Linked DNA regions of Homo sapiens: all the other regions are linked to region 3. Evidence: promoter capture Hi-C in human tissues and cell types (Jung and others, 2019). All regions are on one chromosome and are shown on one strand. Each heading gives the region's core, a stretch centred on a gene start or on the middle of the fragment in contact. The rest is flanking DNA. Distances are from core to core; before and after follow the strand shown. Region 1 overlaps SNED1 (sushi, nidogen and EGF like domains 1). Region 2 overlaps PASK (PAS domain containing serine/threonine kinase). Region 3 holds the start of ANO7 (anoctamin 7). Region 4 overlaps HDLBP (high density lipoprotein binding protein).

Region 1 (2,700 bases), core at 147-2,646, 100 kb before region 3:
TTCTGCCATTAACTCATGATGTGGCCTTAGGCCCCCCATCTCCAAAATGGGCTGTGGAGGGAGAGATGCCCAGCCCATCTCTTAGGTCCTTTCTTGCTAACACTCTATGACTCTGTCGGTCACACAGTCCATTTAGTCAACAGATGACTTACTGAGCACCTGCTGTGTGCCGGGCACTGTCCATTTAGTCAACAGATGACTTACTGAGTACCTGCTGTGTGCCGGGCACTGTTCTAGATACTCAGCACACATCAGAACAGAGCAGACCAAAGCCCTGCCTTCAGGACCCGTTCATTGCAGATGAGGGGACAGACAACAGACAGCAGTGAGAGTGTGGTGTGTGGTGTGGCAGGTGGTGAGTGCAAAGGGAAAAAGGACGAGATGACAGGACGAGACCAGGAGAGCCTGCTGGGGATGGGCAGGGCTGGTGCAGCAAGAGGGCAGCCTCCTGGGGAGGGCGATGCTGAACAGACATGGAGGAGGGATGGACATTCCAGAGCCAGAGGACAGTTACCAGGGCCCCAAGTCAGGAGTGTCCCTGGCATGTTGGGGGAGAAGTGGAGAGTGGTGAGAGGTGAGGGACAGGGAACCCTCGGGGCCATGGAGACCCACAGAAGGACTCTGGTGTTTGTCCGGCATGAAATGGGGAGGAGCTACTGAAGGGTTCTGAGCAGAAGAGTGACATGTTCGATTACACTACTTTGGATGCTCTGTGGAGAATGGGATGTAGACGGGCAAGGGTAGAAGCTTCATTAGAGCTTGGACATGAAGCCAGGTGTAATATGTAGCAGGAACACATATGAGATACTAATCTGTGTTGGGATTTGGGAAGCCGTGTTGACAGCCCACTGAATTCGGATTCTATGCAGTGAGAGTCCGAATCCACAGTATCTGCCATCTTCCCGCTGTGCTTAGTTACACCAGTGCCTGCTGGTGACCACCAAGTATCCAACAAGAAGACCCTTCACTTCCTGAAAGCATTCTATCCTTTCACTTTTAACCTATCTGCATATTTCAAGTGACTTTCTAGTATTTAACATAGAGGTGGGTCTTGCTGGATATCTAGTCTGACAGTCTGGTTTTTATTGGAGTATTTAGACCATTTACTACCTTCCACATAATGGCTGATGTGGTTGGATTTAAACTGCCATATTACTATTTGTTTTCTATTTTTCCCACCTGCTTTTTGTTCCTTTTTTCTTTTTTCCTGCCTAATTTTGGATTACTTTTTAGGATTCCATTTTGTCTCCACTATGGGCTTACTGGTTATACTTCTTAGGTTTATTGTTTAGAGGTTGCTCTGGGATTTGCCATACACATCTTCACCTTAACACAATGTACCCTTAATTACTATTGTACGAGTTCAATATGATGGCAGCGTCTAGGATTTTTTTTTTTTTTTTTTTGAGACAAAGTCTCCCTCTTGTCCCCCAGGCTGGAGTGCGATGGTGCGATCTTGGCTCATCGCAACCTCTGCCTCCTGGGTTCAAGCAATTCTCCTGCCTCAGCCCCCCGAGTAGCTGGGATTACAGGCGCCTGCCACCACACCCTGCTAATTTTTGTATTTTTAGTAGAGACAAAGTTTACGTAGAGACAGGGTTTCACCATGTTGGCCAGGCTGGTCTCAAACTCATGACCTCAGGTGATCCACCCACCTTGCCCTCCCAAAGTGCTGGGATTACAGGCGTGAGTGACTGTGCCCGGCCAGCAGTGTCTAGGATTTACCATACACATCTTCAACTTCACGCCGCATACCTTTAATCACTAGTAGACAACTTCAGTATCCATGGCAGCGGCTGACATCAAGCTTCCACTTCCCTCCCATCCTTTGAATTATTATCAGACTTTTTCCTTCCACATATGCTGTGAACTGCACTATACGTTATTTTTGCACTCAAAAATTATCTTGTTTTAGATATTGAAAGTAAAGTATTTTGTATTTATTGTACATCTGCCTGCCGACTCCAGCACTCTTCATTCCTTTTTGTAGATCTAGGATTCCATCTGGTATCATTTCTCTTTGCCATAAGAACTTAACTCTAACATCTCCTATAGCACAGGTCTGCAGGAGATGAATTCTCTCTGCTTTTGTCTGAAACTATTTTTTTTTCACCTTCATTTTTGAAGAATATATTTGCTGAATATAGACTTCTTGATTGACAGTTATATTTTTTTCTTTCATGACTTAAAAGTTGTCATGGCTTTGTCTTCTGGCTTGCATAGTTCCAGACAAGAAGACTGCAGTCATTCTTACCTGTGTTACACTGTATGGAATGTGTCTTCCTGCCCCTTTTATGTTTTCCCTTTATGACTGTTTTTGGACAATTTAATTATGATGTGCTTCTCGGTATGGCTACGTTTTGATTCTCTGGAGTTTAAGCTTCTTGTATTTCTGGGTTTTAATTTTGTCAAACTTCGTAAAATTTTTGCCATTATTTCTTCATATATTTTTCCTGTCCCTCCATTTCTTCTACTTCTGGGACTCCAGTTATGCGTGTATTAGACTGATATTGTCCCACAGGTCACTGCAGCTCTTCTCAACTTTTTCAGTCTTTTCATTTTGGACAGATTCTATTGCTATGCACTCAAGGTCATTGATCTTTTCTTCTGCAGCATCTACCATTAATCCTGTTCAACAAAAGTTTTATTAATACTGTGTTTTATCATCTCCAGAAGTTTCATTTAGTTGTTTCTTAGATG
Region 2 (2,749 bases), core at 44-2,543, 79 kb before region 3:
GAGGGCCTCTAAGATCCAAAGAGGAACATTAACAAAAACTAAATTATCAAGATGTTTTAAAGTCATATGCAAATTATTTGATGAATAGAAAAGAAACAAATGAGACTGTTGATATGGACAGAGATACACTGAGGAATGAGGAAATGGGAAAAAAAAGTGGCTGGTCTCTAAGGACAGTGTCGACTGTCTACCACTTGCAGCTCACGCTCACCTTTGGACACCAGGTATGGCGGGTGTATGGCAGCCTCCACGGTCTCCTCCAGCTCACAGAAGGGGTTCTCCTCAAAGACCAGCGTGTACAGAGTGACTCCCAGAGACCACATCTCCAGCTCCGGCCCTCTGTAGCTGTGAGGAGGAGGAGGCATCAGGACGCCACGGCACTCAGCGCAGGCTTGCCAAGCCCGCCCATGGGAAGCACCATGGCCCTTCCCGACCAGCACACAGGCCAGGCAGTGGTTTCCCAAGAGGAGGGTCACTCCACCCCTCAAACACGCCCTCCATTTCCACGCACTTCTGCCCCAGGCCAGCCAGCAGGCCATGTGCCAGGAGTGGAGAGGCCATCGGGCAGCTCCGAGGCTAATCAGGAACTTCCTTGTGGACACCAACCACAAGACGTGTCTACCAGAGGGGGGAGCGGGGGGAGGGCTTCCTGGAGGAAGCAGAGTACACGTCCATTGGCTTTGCTGAGGGCCACGGGAGCTGCAGGCCACTTCAGAACAGGGTCACGTGCCCTTCAGACGTGATCAGGCATGTTCACGATCTTGGTGTGAACGGGCTTGGTGTGACCATGGACACACATGCCCTTTAGGAAGATGGCTGTGGCGACGATGTGAAGGGTGCTGCAGGACGAGACTGAACAGGGAAAAACACCGAAGGATGAAAGCAAACAAGAAGGACGTGGTGAAGGTGGGTGTTCACACAGTGGGCCAAATGGAGGAGCAAGCTTCAGGGAGAAGACACCCAAAGGACTATTGTTACTTCCTGTCGCCGTAAACATCCTCATCCACGCTACCATTTATTTCCTGTCACCGTAAACATCCTCATCCACGCTACCATTTATTTCCTGTCACCGTAAACATCCTCATCCACGCTACCATTTATTTCCTGTCGCCGTAAACATCCTCATCCACGCTACCATTTATTTCCTGTCACCGTAAACATCCTCATCCATGCTACCATTTATTTCCTGTCACCGTAAACATCCTCATCCATGCTACCATCTATTGGGTACCTAGAGATGCCAATGCTGTACCAGCATTTTACATGGCTTAACCCAAATCCTCACAACAACCTAGCAAGATAAATATGACTTTCATTTTGCACAGAAGAGCAAGGCTTGGTGAGGTGAAGTTGCTGCCAAGCACGCACCAGAGCCAGGTCACCAGCACCCACAGCCCTGCCCCTGCACTGGCCAAGGCCATGCGTCTCCAGGTCCGCAGCTGGGGGTCTGTCCCCAGAAGAGGTCTGGGAAGCAGCAGCCTGTTCTCAGAACCAGAATTAGACAAGGGAGCCAAGAGAAACCACAGCAGTGAGAAGAGTGGCACGGACAGAGCCCCGGGCTGGACTCGGAGAAGAGGGGCTGGGAGGGAGGGGAGGGGAGGGGAGGGGAGGGCTCAAGAGGGCAGATCACAGAGGCCAGAGCAGCAGCGTGGGTGAAAGTCGGGCCCCCAGGCTGAGTCAGCAGGGTGGTGGGGTGGCTAGCACAGACCGCAGGGAAGCTGAGCGGACGGATGAGAGCTGTAGGGGCTAGAGCAAGAAAATCAGTTTCAGCAGTTTTTGTTTTTGTGTTGTTTCTGTTTTTTAGAGAGATTTCAAGATGTTTAGAAGCTGAAGAGAAATATCCAATAGAACAGAACAGAGGTTGGCAAACTTTTCCTGTGAAGGGTCAAATAGTAAATATTTCAGGTTTTGGGCCACATGGTCCCCACTGCAACTCAACTCTGTCATGTAGGACAAAGGCAGCTACAGACGACACATAAGCAAATGAGCACAGCTCCATTCCAATAAAACTTTATTTATAGAAACAAGAGGCAGGGGATGTTTGCACACACGTTTGTAGCAGCATCACGAACAACATAAAGATGGAAGCAAAAGGTAGAAGCAACACAAATGTCCACTGACAGATGAATAAGTACAGCATATCCAGAAAACGCAATCAAATTCAGCCTTGAAAAGGAAGATGCTGGCACAGGCCACAACATGGATGGACCTTGAGGACTTTATGCAAAGTGAAATAAGCCAGTCACCAAAAGGCAAATGCTGTACGATTCCACGTATAGGAGGTCCCTAGAGTAGTCAGATTCATAGAGAAAATAGCAGAATGGCAGCTGCCAGGGCCTGAGGAAGGGGAAGAGGGACCTAAGGCCACAGTCTGCCGACCCTGGAGTAGACGGAGATGAAGATGACAAGACAGAAGCCAGGGCCCTGAGGATGGGATTGAGAATAAGAACTCAGAAACCCTTTCATCCAGGGAGATGGGGAGAGGACGCAGGAGGGAGGAAGGAGCTCCTGAGAGGAGGCCTGCAGCCCCGCAGGCCCAGGAGCAGTACACCGCTCACAGCCAGAAAGGAGAGGCCAGGAGGCAGGGCAGAGCCCTGGCAGGGCAGGCGCTCAGGGAGAGGGTGGGAGCCACAGCTCTGGGAGGCAGGGCCAAGGTGGCCAAGCAGCACTGAGCTCTCGCCCAGGTTGGATCCCCCCTGCACCCTCCCCAAGCTTCACGGCCTGGGTACAGGAAGGGGTGACAAGCCAT
Region 3 (2,700 bases), core at 175-2,674:
ATCCACCTCAGGCGCCTGCAGGCTGAGCTTGGCCAAGCAGAGACCTCTCATGCAGATGCCCTGAGGCCCAGGGCCCCAAGGTCCTGCCGCCCAGGCTCTGCTGGTGCTGACAGGGAACCCGGCCTGCAGGGCCTTCCCGCTGTTCCGAGGCACAACACAGGTCCAAGAACAGGGCCCCTTGGGAGGTGCCAAGCACAGAGGGGCATAGGTATAAGGGAAAGCTGCAGCCAGGATGAGGGTCCGCCTGGAGGGATTTCAACAGGCAGAAGGGGGCACCTGGAACAGCAAGCTGAGCTTGGGGCTCCCCAGTGCAGTTGTGCATGGAGGGCGAGGAGCACGGGTGGTAGGTTCTCAGACACTGCCAGGCACCAAGGAGGAAAGGGGGAGGGGGAGGGAGAGGGGAAGAGGAGGGGCGGGGAGAAAGGATAGGAGGAGAAGGAGGAGGAGAGGGAGAAGTGGGGGGAGGGGGAGAAACAGGAGGAGGGGAGTGGGGAGAAAGGAGGAGAAGGAAGAGGAGAGGGAGAAGTGGGGGGGAGGGGGAGAAACGATAGGAGGAGGGGGAGTGGGGAGAAAGAGGAGGAGGAGGAGGAGTTGGGGGGAGAAATGATAGGAGGAGAGGGAGAGGGGAGAACGGATAGGAGGAGAAGGAGAGGGAGGAGTAGGGGGGAGAAACAATAGGAGGAGAAGGAGGAGAGGGAAGGTGGGGAGAAAGGATAGGAGGAGGGGGAGAAAGGAGGAGGGGGAGGAGGGCTAGGAGGAGAAAGAGGAGGGCTAGGAGGAGAATGAGGACGAGGAGGAGGGCGGAAAGGATGGGAGGAAGGCTAGGACCCCTCCTGTCCTTTTGCAGATGGGGCCCTGAGCATGGGATGTGCCTGAGGTCACCCCTCAGGCATTAGCAGAGCCAGCAGTGTGATCTGGGTCTCCCAATCTCCCCAGCCCCCGGGTGAAACCCTGGCCCACCACTCAGCACATGCTACGTAACCTCAAGGAGCCTCAGTTTCCCCCCACATAAACAGAGCTTACGAGGTCTGCCTGGCAAGGCTTCCAGCAGAGGTGGCACTTGTGGCTGTTCCTGTGGAATCCCACCTCCTCGAGACCCTCCAAGGCAGCAACTATGACAGCTGATGCCAGCCCTGAAATCTCTAAGCAAATAAGGTTCCCAGGAGGACGGCAGCATTTGCATGCGGGTGTGTGAAAGCCCAGCCAAGTGGGCTGCCTCTGTCTGCAGCTCTGAGCCCCACACCCCCTATTTAAACAAAGATAGATCCTGCTCCAGGAGCCGGGAAGCCTTGCCCTGGCCAGCTGTGCTGGGCACCTCCCCTGCCTGCTTCCTGGCCCACTTGCAGGCAAGGTGAGGGCATGCGAATGGCTGCCACTGCCTGGGCGGGGCTCCAAGGGCCACCCCTCCCCACCCTCTGTCCCGCAGTGAGGACGGGACTCTACTGCCGAGACCAGGCTCACGCTGAGAGGTGGGCCATGACCTCCGAGACCTCTTCCGGAAGCCACTGTGCCAGGTGGGGACCCAGCCTAGACGTGTGGGCCACAGGGAGAAGGTGGAGCGTTGGACTCTAGGGAGGCAGGGCGGCACCCCAGCCCACCGGGACTTTCACACACCCTGGCCTGTGGGGAGGCAGTGCCAGGGCCCGCCCTGGTCCCCAAAGCCCCTTGGGGCACGAGGAGGGACACACACTCAGTGCGGCTCTGGACGGGGTACACCCAGCTGGGGTTGGCTTCCTGCCTGCCCAGGGGCTCCCCCATGGAGCAGGTCCCTTCGTTGGGGTGGGGGGCATCCCCATTCTTTCTGCAGAGAGCTCTGAGGAGGGGCCCGCCTGCCCACCACAGAAGGATGGGGGCATGAGGGGCTGCTGGGTGGCCGAAACTCCTCGGGGACTTTCCTCCAGGAACACCCCACAGTCCGTAGTGAGGCTCCCAGCCTGGGGCCGGGGCCGAGTCCTAACACTGAGACCTGGCTCGGGCTTCAGGGTTAGGCAGGTGCAGGCGGCCCAGGCTCAGTCTCTGTCCCTCTGGGCCTCCGCTAATGTGAAGTGAAGGGTAGAACTAGAAGGCTGCCCCTCCGACCTCCTGCGGCGCCTCCATGGTCACACCCTCCGGTCATCGTCGCAGCTCCAAATGCCAGCCCCAGCTCGAACCCTCTCCTTCCAGGGCCACAGATGTCGTGCTCCTGGCCCCGTTTTGCCAGCCCAAGACTAGGAGCCACGGCACCTGTCCTCCCACAGAGAGAGACCCCCGGGGCGAAGGTGCGGGAGGAAGCTGGGACCCCCAAGAGTTGTGAGGCCGGGCTCCATCAGGCCCGCCTTGCTGGGGAGCTCAGGGCCTATGGGTCCTGGCACTGGGTCCTCAGGCCATGAGCGAAGGCAGGCGACTTGAGGGGTTTCCTGTCCCTGGCTCACATGGCTCCACCCTACGGATAAGAGAGGGAGAGGTGTCTGTACTCCAGGCCCACCTTTCTGGGCCTTCTCAGGCTCCACTGAGTACCCAGGCAGAGTGGACGGCATTCAGGGCTGGGGGACACGGGCACTCACTGGATGGACAGACAGACGCCTGCTGTGCCAGGCCTGCCAGACGCTCCCGCCCCGGCACTGGTTTCTTCCTGGAGCTCGTGGCTGGCTAGGGGGTTCTCCATGTGCTCATGGCCAGGAGAGTCTGCCGAGCCAGCCCAGCCCCATTCTACTCCGAGTC
Region 4 (2,700 bases), core at 132-2,631, 92 kb after region 3:
ATAAAAACCTTTGTCAAAATACAGAAATGACCTTAATAAATGGAGACAGGCCATGGTCATCTAAAGAAAGACTTAATCATGGATAGTAATTCTCCCCTAATTAGACTAGAAATTCAATGCAAATGTAACTTAAATCCCAAAAGGTATGTGTGTGTATGGAATTTTACAACCAGATTTTATACAATTTTTATTTATACAAGTTTTCTATATGTAATTTTTATAATGTTGCATTGCAAACACTGAATTGTAAAAAAAATTATTTATATACACCATTTTTAGAATAGTTACAAATACAATCATATTTACACAACAAAATTTATACAAAAGATCAAGGACCAAGAACAGCTAATATAACTCTGAAGAAAACAACGTGGAGGAGGGCTTGCTCTCTCCAGTGTCAGTAATTCAGGCTGTGGTGCTAGTGCCGGGGACAGACACAGAGAACAAGGGAGCAGCAGAGTGGGCCCAACGCAGACACCACAGACACTGACATTGCCTGCCTCAGATGTGGTCGTGTGGATCAGCAGGGAGATGGATGATGCAATCAATGGCTCTGGGAAAACTGGTTATCTACAGTAGGAGGGAAAAACTAGGTCCTTATTTGACACCATTTGCAAGGCCTATTAAGGCTTAAGAAGCAAATACTCCACGAGCGAACGATCCCACTTCTGGAGACGTACTTCAGGAAAAAGCTTTCCTGGGCAAAAGGAAATATGTACAAGAATGCTCATCTCACTGCACTGCTAGTAATAGTCAACAAATTTTTAAGAACCTAATTGTCAGTGGATAACATGGATAAACAGAGGTATACAATTTATGCAGCCTACTCCTCTCTTTGCTTTAACTTATCACCTGACAGGAACCCGCTGCAGTGGAGCCATGCTGAAGGGGTTAGGAGGAGCAGCGGACCAGGGGTCATCTCCAAGGCTGTGGGAGCAGAGATGTGGAGGACAGGCGCCCACCACTTCCTTGGCAGCAGTGCAGTCTTATAGGAAGTTATTGGCACCATGGGATGGGAGCTAAGTTTAGCACAATTTGCACTCCCATACTGAGTGTGGTGGTCAAAGTCAGGTCAAAGAAATGTTTCCATCCCATTTGAAAGCTGAAAATTTAAAATTATATGTGGCTCATATTACATTTTTATTAGCACAAACTAATTTTATAATTAAGCTTATTTATACTCAGTTTAATTTGACTTGTAGCATATTCTAATAAGGAACAACTTTTCTTTGGCTCACATGTATTTACTGCTAATATATATTACAGTATATATTATTACATTAAACTCCCAGCCCTAAAATAAAGTCTCACGAAAGTTCAGATGAGACAGAAACAAAGACCTTGCAGTCCAGGGTTTCCTGTAAATTTGCCTTGTTCTTTCTCCACTAACTAATTCTGTCAGTTTCACTACTTTTCAGGAAGTAACAGAAAAGGTAACTTAGTATATTCTCCAGTGACACTGTTCTCTGGCTTATTTCTTTGATTCACGTATTTCTAGGTAAGGTGAAAATACGTAACTTGTGTTTTATCCGAGTCATTATAGGCACCTATAATGAGAACAAATTGTATAAAGAACACCAAACTTGTTGCCAGGATACCTGCTTTCAGAATCTTGCTCAGATATAATTTGGGTCACCTTGGCTAGTTGTTTAAGCTCTCAACTTTAATAATTCACATTTCTAAGTTTTGGGGCCTTTTCTGCAAGTTGTTAAAAAGATCAAGGAAAATGGTATCTAAAAGAACCTGCCCTTTAATAGGTATCTCACTGTTTGGGAATGCTAACATTTAATTCCACTAAACCACTAAACTCACTACTTTCCACTAAATTAATACATTTAGTGGAGTATGCCACTACATTAATTTTACAAATACAGAAACAATCAGCACATATTTCTACAGCTGAGTAAAGAATAATATTTACTTAGAGCCTAATTAAAGAACATGTGTCAGATAAATACAATTTATTTTCTTAATAAGATGGGGGGCTGGGCGCGGTGGCTCACGCCTGTAATCCCAGCACTTTGGGAGGCCGAGGTGGGCGGATCACTTGAGGTCGAGAGATCGAGATCAGCCTGACCAACAGGGAGAAACCCCATCTCTACTAAAACACAAAATTACTCGGGCTTGGGGGTGCATGCCTGTAATCCCAGCTACTCGGGAGGCTGAGGTGGGAGAATCGCTTGAACCCGGGAGGCAGAGGTTGCAGTGAGCCGAGATCGCGCCATTGCACTCCAGCCTGTGCAACAGGAGTGAAACTCCGTCTTAAAAATAAATAAATAAATAAGCCAGGCATGGTGGCACGTGCCTGTAATCCCAGCTACTCGGGAGGCTGAGGTGGGAGAATTGCTTGGGCCTAGGAGGTGGGGGTTGCAATGAGTTGAGATCGTGACACTGCACTCCAGCCTGGCTGACCAAGTGAGACCCTGTCTCAAAAAAATAAAAAAGAGGATAGGACAAATGTTAGGTCCAAAAGAATAAATTGATGGATTTTCATAGAAATAGACTACTCTTTTGAGCTGTGCTGGCCAACATCTACTGGCCACATGTCACTACAGCCTTCACACGTGGCTAGTTTAAAATGATATGTGCTGTAAGTCTAAAATATACATCAGATTTTGAAGATTTAGTACAAGAAATACTATCTAAAACATTTTATTATTAGTTTTAGGATGGATTACATGTAAAATGGTAGTATCTTAC

What was found. The method cuts DNA at HindIII sites, captures the fragments that hold promoters and counts their contacts. A contact is called where the count stands out against the background at its distance.
Region 1: a fragment that was not itself captured here is called in contact with the fragment with the promoter of ANO7 in region 3 in 4 of the 25 tissues and cell types used here (heart left ventricle, heart right ventricle, hippocampus and 1 more).
Region 2: a contact is called between a fragment that was not itself captured here and the fragment with the promoter of ANO7 in region 3, in 3 of the 25 tissues and cell types used here (adrenal gland, pancreas and psoas muscle).
Region 4: a fragment that was not itself captured here is called in contact with the fragment with the promoter of ANO7 in region 3 in 2 of the 25 tissues and cell types used here (dorsolateral prefrontal cortex and pancreas).

Annotation. Positions count from the first base shown.
Region 1 is chr2:241,082,748-241,085,447 of GRCh38, forward strand. The region is part of intron 29 of SNED1 (sushi, nidogen and EGF like domains 1); the gene reads left to right. It also overlaps a transcript of MTERF4 not described here. Among named protein-coding and RNA genes, the nearest start is that of MTERF4, 18 kb to the right of the region's middle. The HindIII fragment of the contact is 4,214 bases long and covers 1-2,700 here.
Region 2 is chr2:241,107,956-241,110,704 of GRCh38, forward strand. It overlaps PASK (PAS domain containing serine/threonine kinase), which reads right to left. Exons shown (of 18, transcript NM_015148.4): 16 at 212-345. Among named protein-coding and RNA genes, the nearest start is that of MTERF4, 7.0 kb to the left of the region's middle. The HindIII fragment of the contact is 4,883 bases long and covers 1-2,749 here.
Region 3 is chr2:241,187,253-241,189,952 of GRCh38, forward strand. It overlaps ANO7 (anoctamin 7), which reads left to right and starts at 1,425. Exons shown (of 25, transcript NM_001370694.2): 1 at 1,425-1,514. It overlaps LOC105373971 (a long non-coding RNA gene), which reads right to left and starts at 1,170. Exons shown (of 3, transcript XR_924064.3): 1 at 1,024-1,170. RefSeq lists enhancers at 695-1,379, 1,380-2,063. The HindIII fragment of the contact is 24,444 bases long and covers 1-2,700 here.
Region 4 is chr2:241,279,091-241,281,790 of GRCh38, forward strand. All of the region lies in intron 1 of HDLBP (high density lipoprotein binding protein), which reads right to left. Among named protein-coding and RNA genes, the nearest start is that of HDLBP-AS1, 8.3 kb to the left of the region's middle. RefSeq lists an enhancer at 2,144-2,644. The HindIII fragment of the contact is 3,126 bases long and covers 1-2,700 here.